Regions from separate parts of the Homo sapiens genome. Here region 1 is linked to region 2. Evidence: promoter capture Hi-C in human tissues and cell types (Jung and others, 2019). All regions are on one chromosome and are shown on one strand. The core of a region is centred on a gene start or on the middle of the fragment in contact, and the rest is flanking DNA. Distances in the headings are between cores, read along the strand shown. Region 1 has its middle 150 kb from the start of TMEM108. Region 2 holds the start of BFSP2 (beaded filament structural protein 2).

Evidence for each region. The method cuts DNA at HindIII sites, captures the fragments that hold promoters and counts their contacts. A contact is called where the count stands out against the background at its distance.
Region 1: a contact is called between a fragment that was not itself captured here and the fragment with the promoter of BFSP2 in region 2, in 1 of the 25 tissues and cell types used here (aorta).

Annotation. Positions count from the first base shown.
Region 1 is chr3:132,884,667-132,889,160 of GRCh38, reverse strand. No RefSeq gene overlaps it. Among named protein-coding and RNA genes, the nearest start is that of TMEM108, 150 kb to the left of the region's middle. The HindIII fragment of the contact is 3,209 bases long and covers 1-3,121 here.
Region 2 is chr3:133,397,772-133,402,438 of GRCh38, reverse strand. It overlaps BFSP2 (beaded filament structural protein 2), which reads right to left and starts at 2,383. Exons shown (of 7, transcript NM_003571.4): 1 at 1,867-2,383. The coding sequence starts at 2,355. TMEM108 (transmembrane protein 108) reads right to left here. Exons shown (of 6, transcript NM_023943.4): 6 at 4,664-4,667. The HindIII fragment of the contact is 25,133 bases long and covers 1-4,667 here.

The DNA.
Region 1 (4,494 bases), core at 268-2,767, 510 kb after region 2:
GTCTGGAGATTTAAGTTTGAGAAGTGCTGTTAAACTAAAAGTTCTGTGTGGGCAGAGGCCGGGTCTGCCTTGTTTTGTTCACGGCTATTGTCTATGTGGCGGATATTTGAAAAATGGCTAACAGTATTTGCTGGAAAAAGCAATTAACTTACTGAGTGAATAAATGGGTGAATGAATGATACTTAAAATGGAACTTGCAAGGCAATACAGACAGAGGTAACAGTCTGACAAAAAAGACCAGCATCAATTAAGGATTTTAGGATAATAGCGAGCAATTAAATGTGTAGAGCAATGAGCACCATGGCAAAAACTTAGGCTACGAACTTAATCCTGAGTTCAACTCCTGGCTCTAACCCTTATTAGCAAAGTCACCTTGGACAAATTAACCATTCTGAGCAAATGAAAGCATTCTGACAAATGAAACCATTCAGTCCGTCAGCTGAGTGCACTAATGCAAGTTACGACTTTCTGTGCCTCCATTTTATTTTTTCTTTTCTTTTCTTTCCTTTTTTTTAAATTATATTTTAAGTTCTGGGATACATGTGCAGAACGTGTAGGTTTGTTACATAGATGTATATGTGCCATGGTGGTTTGCTGCACCCATCAACCCATCATCTACATTAGGTATTTCGCCTAACGGTGTCCCTCGCCTAGCCCCCCACCCCTGCCGACAAGCCCCGATGTGTGATGTTCCCATTCCTGTGTCCATATGTTCTCATTGTTCAACTCCCACTTGAACAATGCGGTGAGAACATGTGGTGCTTGGTTTTCTGTTCTTTTGTTAGTTTGCTGAGAATAAAGTGAAGATAATAACAGCACCTACCTCATAGTAGTAAAGTGCTTAGAGCTGTGCTGTCCAGCATGGCAGCCACAGCCACATGTGGCTACTGAGGCTTGAAATGTGGCTAGTGCAACATTAGAAACTAAAATTTTAACTCTTTTAATTGATTGAAAGTGAAATCTAAAATGTTAAATCCAAGGAATTTTTAACAATTTGGATGAGAATAGAAAAGGAAATGACTTTTTGTTACTTGATTCTTCCCAATATGTTTGTAACAACTTGGGTGTGTAATCTACTTTTTTTTTTACCGTGCATTTTTAAAAATATAAACACAGTATTTATTGTGTTGATTTCATTGGAATTCAAATATTTCCAGTGAAAGTTTAGCATCCAAATTGAGATATGTTATAGGTGTAAAATACACACCAATTTTAATGACTTAGTGCCAAAAAAAAGGGAAGAAAATGTGAAATATCTCATTAATGATTTTTTATGTTAATTACATGCTCCTTGACAAAATATTTTATTAAAATCAGCTTCACTTGTTTCTTTTTACTTTTTAATGTGGCTATGAAAAACGTAAAATTACATATGTGGCACACATATTTCTATAGAACAATACCTTAGCACATTGTAAGCACTATAAAAACAGCTAGCAATCATTGTTTTATTATTTGTACTATAGAGATAATATTTATCCTACAAAATCCTATAAGGATAAAATGAGATATTGTTTAAAGCTTTTAGTGCAGTGTGGGGCACATAATAAAAGCTCAGTAAATGGTACCTTTCATTGGTAACTAGAGAGGGCATCGTGTGTTCATAGGAGACTGCTGGTCGATGACAGAACTGGAAGGCTGAGTGGGGGTTGTATAATAAAGTTTTGAAAATCAGGCTGAGAAGTTGAGGCTTAATTATCTATGCAACTGAGAGCTAGTGAAGCACATGATCTGAGATGTGTTTTAGAAAGATAATTCTGACAGCATGTATCCTCACAGGGAGGATGTGAGTTTTGAAAACAGTTCTAAGCCATTTGGAGCAGTCTGCTGAGTAGGTTGGGTGATCATGCTGGGAAACGCTGTCTGGGGTCACAAACCAAGTCTTAGTTTGAGTGATGAGTCTGGTTTCATGGGAGCTCATAATCCAGCTTCATGGGTGATTCCGAAAGAGAAGTTTCACAGGCATTTTTGAAAACCAACCGACAGCATCACTGGCTTAAGTAAATTGCCTTCCGCTTTGACTATTCCAATGCGTATATTTTGGTGTATTTATACAAACAAGCAAATAAATGTCTCATTACATTTTAGTTTATTTGTGTACTCTAGATAAAAGGCTCTTTTGTTATAGTTTTGGTAAGAAAAGTCTCCTGATCTCAAACACCCTAATGAGTGCTTTAAGTTCCTTTTTTTAAAAAATTATTATTATTATGGATATCTATTAGTTGTACATATTTATGGGGTACATGTGATATTTTGATACAAACATACAATGCATAATGGTCAAATCAAGGTAATTGGGGTATCCACCACCTCAAGAATGTATCATTTCTGTGTGATAGAAACATTCCAATTTCACTCATTTAGTTATTTTGAAATATACAATAAATTGTTTTTAACTATAGTTACCCCATTATACTATCAAACACTAGATCTTATTCCTTCTATAACTGTATTTTTGTGCCCATTAACCATGCCCTCATTATCCCCCTCTTCCCACTGCCCTTCCTAACCTCTGGTAACCATTATTCTACTCTCTATGAGTTCAATGTATTTTTTAGTTCCCACATATGAGTGAGAATATGTGATATATGTCTTTTGGTGCCTGGCTTATTTCACTTAACATAATGTCCTCCAGTTCCATGAATGTTGTTGTAAATGACAAGCTTTCACTCTTTCTATGGCCGAATAATATTTCATATATATATATATACATAACACACACCCACACACACACACACACCACATTTTCTTTATCCATTCTTCTGTTGATGGACACTTAGATTGATTCCAAATCTTGGCTATTGTGAATAGTGCTGCAATAAACGTGGGAGTGTAGATATCTCTTCAATATACTGATTTTATTTCGGGGGGTTTATACCTAGCAATGGGATTGCTGGATCACATGGTAGTTCTATTTTTAGTTTTTTAGAGAACATCCAAACGGTTCTCCACAGTGGCTTACATTCCAACCAACAGTGTATGAGGGTTCCCCTTTCCCCACATCCTTGCCAGCATTCATTATTGCCTGCCTTTTGGATACAAGCCATTTTAACTATGGTGAGATGATATCTCATAGTGGCTTTGGTTTGCATTTCTCTGATGATTAGTGATGTTGATAACTTTTTCATATCCTTATTGGCCATTTGTATGTCTTCTTTTGAGAAACGTCTGTTCAAATCTTTTGCCTTTTTTTGCCCAGGCTGGAGTGCAGTGGTGCGATCTCGGCTCACTGCAAGCTCTGCCTCCCGGGTTCACGCCATTCTCCTGCCTCAGCCTCCCGAGTAGCTGGGACTACAGGTGCCCACCACCACGCCCAGCTAATTTTTTGTATTTTTAGTAGAGACGGGGTTTCATCATGTTAGCCAGGATGGTCTCAATCTCCCGACCTCGTGATCCACCCGCCTCATTTTCCCAAAGTGTCTTTTGCCCATTTTTTGGACTGGATTATTTGTTTTTTCCTCTTGTTTGAGCTGCTTATATATTCTGATTATTAATCCCCTATCAGACGGGTAGGTTATAAATATTTTCTCTCATTCTGTGGGTTCTCTCTTCACTTTGTTTCCTTTGCTGTGCAGAAGCTTTTTAACTTGATGTGATCCCATTTGTCCATTTTTGCTTTGGTTGCCTGTGCTTGTGGGTCATTACTCAAGAAATTTTTGCCAAGTCCAATGTTCCAGAGAGTTTCTCCAATGTTCTCTTGTAGTAGTTTCATAGTTTAAGGTCTTAGATTTAAGTCTCTAATCCATCTGTATTTGATTTCTGTAAATGGTGGGAGATGGGGTCTAGTTTCATTCTTCTGCATACAGATACTCAGTTTTCCCAGCACCATTTATTGAAAAGACTGTCCTTTTCCCAATGTATGTTCTTGGCACCTTTATAAAAAATGAGTTGATTGTAAATGCATGGATCTATTCCTGGGTTCTCTATTTTGTTCCATTGGTCTCTATGTCTGTTTTCATGCTAGCACCATGCTGTTTTGGTTACTCTAGCTCTGGGTATAATAGAAGTCAGGTAAGGTGATTCCTTCAACTTTGTTCTTTTTGCTTAGGATAGGTTTGGCTATTCTGGGTATTCTGTGGTTCCATAGAAATTTTAGGATTATTTTTTCTATTTCTGTGAAGAATATCATGGGTATTTTGATAGGGATTTCCTTGAATCTGTAGATTGCTTTGGGTAGTATGTACATTTTAACAATATTGATTCTTCCAGTTCATGAACAGGGAATATCTTTTTATTTTTTCTATGTCCTCTTTAATTCCTTTCATCAATGTTTTATGGTTTTCATTGTAGAGATCTTTACTTCTTTGATTAAGTTTATTCCTAGGGATTTTATTTTATTTGTAGCTAAATTTGGGATTACTTTCTCAGTTTCTTTTTCAGATTGATCATTATTGGCATATAGAAATACTATTGATCTTTGTAAGTTGATTTTGTATCCTGCAATTTCACTGAATTTATTTATCAGTTATAATAGTTTTTGATGCAGTCCTTAGG
Region 2 (4,667 bases), core at 1,134-3,633:
AGAGCTTCCTAGTCTGTACTCTACCTGTAAGCAGGAGCCAGGCTCTTATTTGTCTACAGATTTGCTGGAATATGTAAGCATTGTTATACCCATTTTGTAGATAATGAAACTGAGGCCCAGAGAAGTTAGTAAGTTGCAAAGGCTCTTGTAGCTATCTGGAGCCAGAACAAGTCAGTATCTATTGAGTATAAACTAAGTTTTGTGGCCCTACTTTTTAACCTAGCCATTGGGATACCTGATTTCTCCTGACAAGTCTGTGTGGCATCTGATTGCAAGCGATTGTCCAGCAGATGCTGACATATTGGAGTATCTAGGGATGTTCTGGTGGTTGTTATGGCACAATATTTGGAATAAGGACAGTTGTGAAGAATCCTGGAGGAATGGCTGCCTCTTAGATTTGACAGGCGTTAAGGCCCTGGACTGTTCTAAGATGGCTCTCCCTTGCAGCCCAGATGGATGCAAGCAGAACAGCAGCACCAGGGGGAGAGCCTGAGAGGATGGTGCTGTTCATCATGCACTCTGTGCTGTCAGTGGGCACTGACAGCAGTGCAGGAGAAGCATCCTGGGATGAAGTGGGAGGCAGGAGGGGCAAATGGGGAGTCCCTGTGTGCAACTGCTTAGCTTCCCCCAGCTATACACAAATAAAATTTTGTGACCTCCTCTTGGGAGGCTGCATACTGGACTCCAGGGGGCCAAGGGTCTGAGTTGGCAGTCCCTGGTGGGTTAGAGACTGATTTTGCTCAGAGGGATCCCAAGGCCAGCATCTGGAGAGAAAGAGGAGGAGGAGAGGTGAAGCCAGCTATCCACAGAGAGACCAGCTGAGAGGTGTAATGCTGGCTGGAGTCCCAGCATTAGAACTACAGGCTGCAGGCCAGACATGATGGATGTGCTCCAGACTCCGCAGAAATCACCCTGGAGAGTGGGAAAAGCAGGGCTGACCAAGCAAGGGAGAAAGATGAAACCTCTGCATCCTTCCCTGTCCAATAAGATAGCCATTAGCTACCTGTGGCTGTTTACATTTAAATTAATGAAAATTAGATAAAATAAAAATGCAATTCCTCAGTCTCATTAGCCACATTTCAAGTGCTTGATAGCCATATATGGCTAGTGGCTGCCAGATTGGACAGTGCAGATATAAGATATTAATATTTCCATCACGCAGAAAGCTCTACTTGAATGTAAATTACCTCATTAATATATTTTGTATTGATTACATGTTGAAATAACATTCTGGACATATAGAGTTAAATAAGCTATAATATTAACTTCACCTGCTTCTTTTTACGTGTTTTACTGTGGGTAATAGAAACTTGTCAATTACCAATGTAGTTCATATTTCTATTGAACAGCGTGGTTGTAGGTGGATACAGGAACACACCTCCATTTATTCATTGTTCTTAACACCTCATCCATCCAATGGTATTTGATTGGATAATAGCTGTAAAAATCCCTTCTCAACAGTAAAGGTGACTGAGGCAGCCCCAGGGTAATGGGGCAAATGCAACTTTGGAGGCACAAAAATTCAGGTTCAAATCTCATCTCCATCCCTCTACTAGCTTTGAAGTCTTGGGCAAATTACATGCCTCAGTTTCTCATCTGAAAAATGCAATCAGTGAATGATCCACTGCATAGCATTTCTTTGAAGTTTAAAGAAGACAGTGGGTAGTGCACGTATGGGGGCTAGCGTGGGCTCCTAGTAAACCTCGGTAAAAGGTAGCATTGTTGTTATCATTACCATTTTAAGTGTGAAAGTGTAGGGGATTATGGTCAGTTTCTCTGGCCTCAGCCTACTCACAACCCTACCCGCTGCCTTCAGCAGCCCCTCCCAGCCCTCTGCAAAGCCCTTGGCACAGCCTGGACACTTACCTGCTGGCAGCTGCTGGCCCAGGAAGCCCGTAGGGCACCCCAGTTTCCCGAGCGTGTGGCTTTGCTCTCCAGGTGCATCCGCAGTTGTGTTTCCAGCTCCTGACTGACTTGCTCAAGGGCGTGCACTTTGGCCATATATTCCACCAGGCAGCCCCCTAGGTCCTCAACAGCACCATGGTCCCTCTCCAAACCTGGAGCCGGCACGGTGGCCAGGCCTGAGCTCCGCAGGCCCTGAAGGAAGACACTGCTGATGCCGAGGGCCCGGCGGGTCACACGGGCACCCAAGCCACCTATGCACCCACTGGGTGCTGTTCCTACATAGACCCCGGGTGCTCGGACAAGGCCACTCATGGCATTGGTCCTGGAGGCTGGGGGGCTCTCCAGGGAGGATGATGACCGTGGCCCCCTGAAGGACGCCCTGCGCCTCTGGAGGGGCATGCTGGAGCTGGCACTGGTGGGCAAGTCCACTACCACTCGCCTCTCACTCATCACCCCTTCTGCCTCTGTGGTGCCCAGTGGGTTTACAGAGTCCAGTGGCTTTTGGTTTACAGCCCCAGCATCCCTGTGGCCTGGTCACGGGCCTCTCTGGAATCTCCCCTATCCCTGGGGCTGCTTTGTCTGCTGTCTTCCATGAGTTTCCATCATTCACTGAGCTGAAAGAGAAATGGGCACTGCCCAGGGCTGTGTGCAGAGAGGCACTCATGCATTCTTTGATGCAGGGTCATGTGCCCAACCTCCCAGATTATTCTGCTGGTGGTGGGGGAGGCTGGATCAGTGCAGGCTGTGGAGGTAGACCATTTGGGTTTGTGCATTTTACTACCTAAGTGGGCAAGGCAGGCATCAAGCAACCCCATTTTACAGATGAGTAAACTGAGGCTCAAGGACCTCAGATGACAAGTGTACTGATCACTTGCCCCAGACCTCAGATTACAAGCTAGGACTCAATCTAGCTATTTCAGGGCTTTCTACATCCCTATGTGTGCTGGCACATGTGAATGTGAACACATGTCCACACAGGCAATAGAGGATGAAAAATGGCAGGAGGCAGCTCCAGGGACCCAAGAGAAAAGACTTGCCTATGGTTTCCTCTCTCAGTCCTGGCAGCAGCTTCAGGTCCTTCCCTCACCTCTCTCCTTTCCTCCTCATCTCTGTCCTCTAATGCTCTGCTGTTCATCAGCTGCTTGCTGTTGGCCAGGATGCTTCCTCCCTCTGGACCTCACTGTCTGAACATTGGCTTGGGCCTTTAACTCTCTGATGCACCAGATAAGGACCTTGGGCAAATTCAGATCCCACACATGTTCCGGCCATTCCCTACACCTCTGCTTCTCCATCTGTTGGAAAACTGAGAAATAAAAACAACAACGAGGGTGTTTTCTGGTAAGCCTCTCCAAGGGTGCCCCAAGTTAGGATATGATGACACCCCTGGGTTTTAATTATTGACCTTGGCATCCACTAAGCCACCAAGGGTCACACCTCAATCACTTCTCTAGGATCAGAAAGGTTCCCCCAGTTACAGGATGACAACATGGACCTAAAAACCTCTGTACATAAGTTTTACCCTGGAGAAACCAGGTCACCAAACCCCAGAGCTGGATACTTTTCCAGATGCTGTAATGTAGGAATGTACCTCAGGTGAGAGAAGGAGAAGGGAGTCAATCTCTAGTGAGTAGCAGATCCAGCCTGGTGTGTGCATGAATCCTATGGTTTATTTCGTGGAATTCTCAACTCAACCTCAGGAGGAAGGAGGTCCAGGGTTGACAGGTACTGCCATATGGGCTGTGTACCTCACAGCTCTAAAATGACATGTCCTACAGTTGGCCACTGTCCTCTTATGTGAGGAGGACCCCGAGAGCTGCAATGACTTGCCCAAGGTTCTATGTCCAGAAAGTAGCAGAGCTGGGGGCAGACAACCTCTTCCAAACTCTGGGCCACTGACTTACTTAGGAGCCTCCCTGTTGCCCACCACCCAGAGAGCAGAGTACCTACCTGAGGTCACGCAGGTAGAGGTAAAAAACCTGGTCGCCTACTAGAGGACCCTGTGTGCACTTCCTTCCTACTGACCAGGACACTCCAACCCTTCCTTTCTTTATTGTCTTCCACTTTGTCTCTCTGAGATGGCCTGGGAGGTATTTTATAAATATCAGTGTTGGCTATTTGATGAACAGATGAAAGAACCAATTGGATTAAGTAAAGGCCAGTAGTGTCCTTGTTTATTCAGATGTAGCATTAATGCTGTGAACACCACCCCTGATGCACCCAGAAGGGGCATGCGAGCCTGTGTTACAGTAACAGCCTCCTATACGGATGACACTGACTTGGTTCTGAGGATCTGCATTATTGTGAATTCCAAGATGTATTGTCCAAGGCTGAATGAAAAGTTCAGGCTACTGATTAAGTTGTGCACAAATGTGTCATGTTTAGGCATTGTTATTCTCTACAGAATGGTAACACTCAATGGCCAGGTTAACTTCAGACTTCTCCGGACCAAAGATATTTACTATATAAATCCACTCAGCCCTGGAGACAGGGAGAAAGAGGGGGGGATGTACTTTGACACCACTGTCTCCAAAGACCTGATGAAAGATGAGTCTGTTTTGGAGAAACTGCAAACATGTTCAAAAAGATTTATTTTATCAAATGATAAACTGCTAATCCTATTAGCTCATCACATACATAAAACTCAACTTACTGTTAAATCAGATTAAAAAATACAGATGGATATAAAGTGGTGTTGGTACTGCTTAAGGAAGACTTAGAGCTTATCTTGAAAAGAATGCAAAATGTATTAGCAACAGAATCCT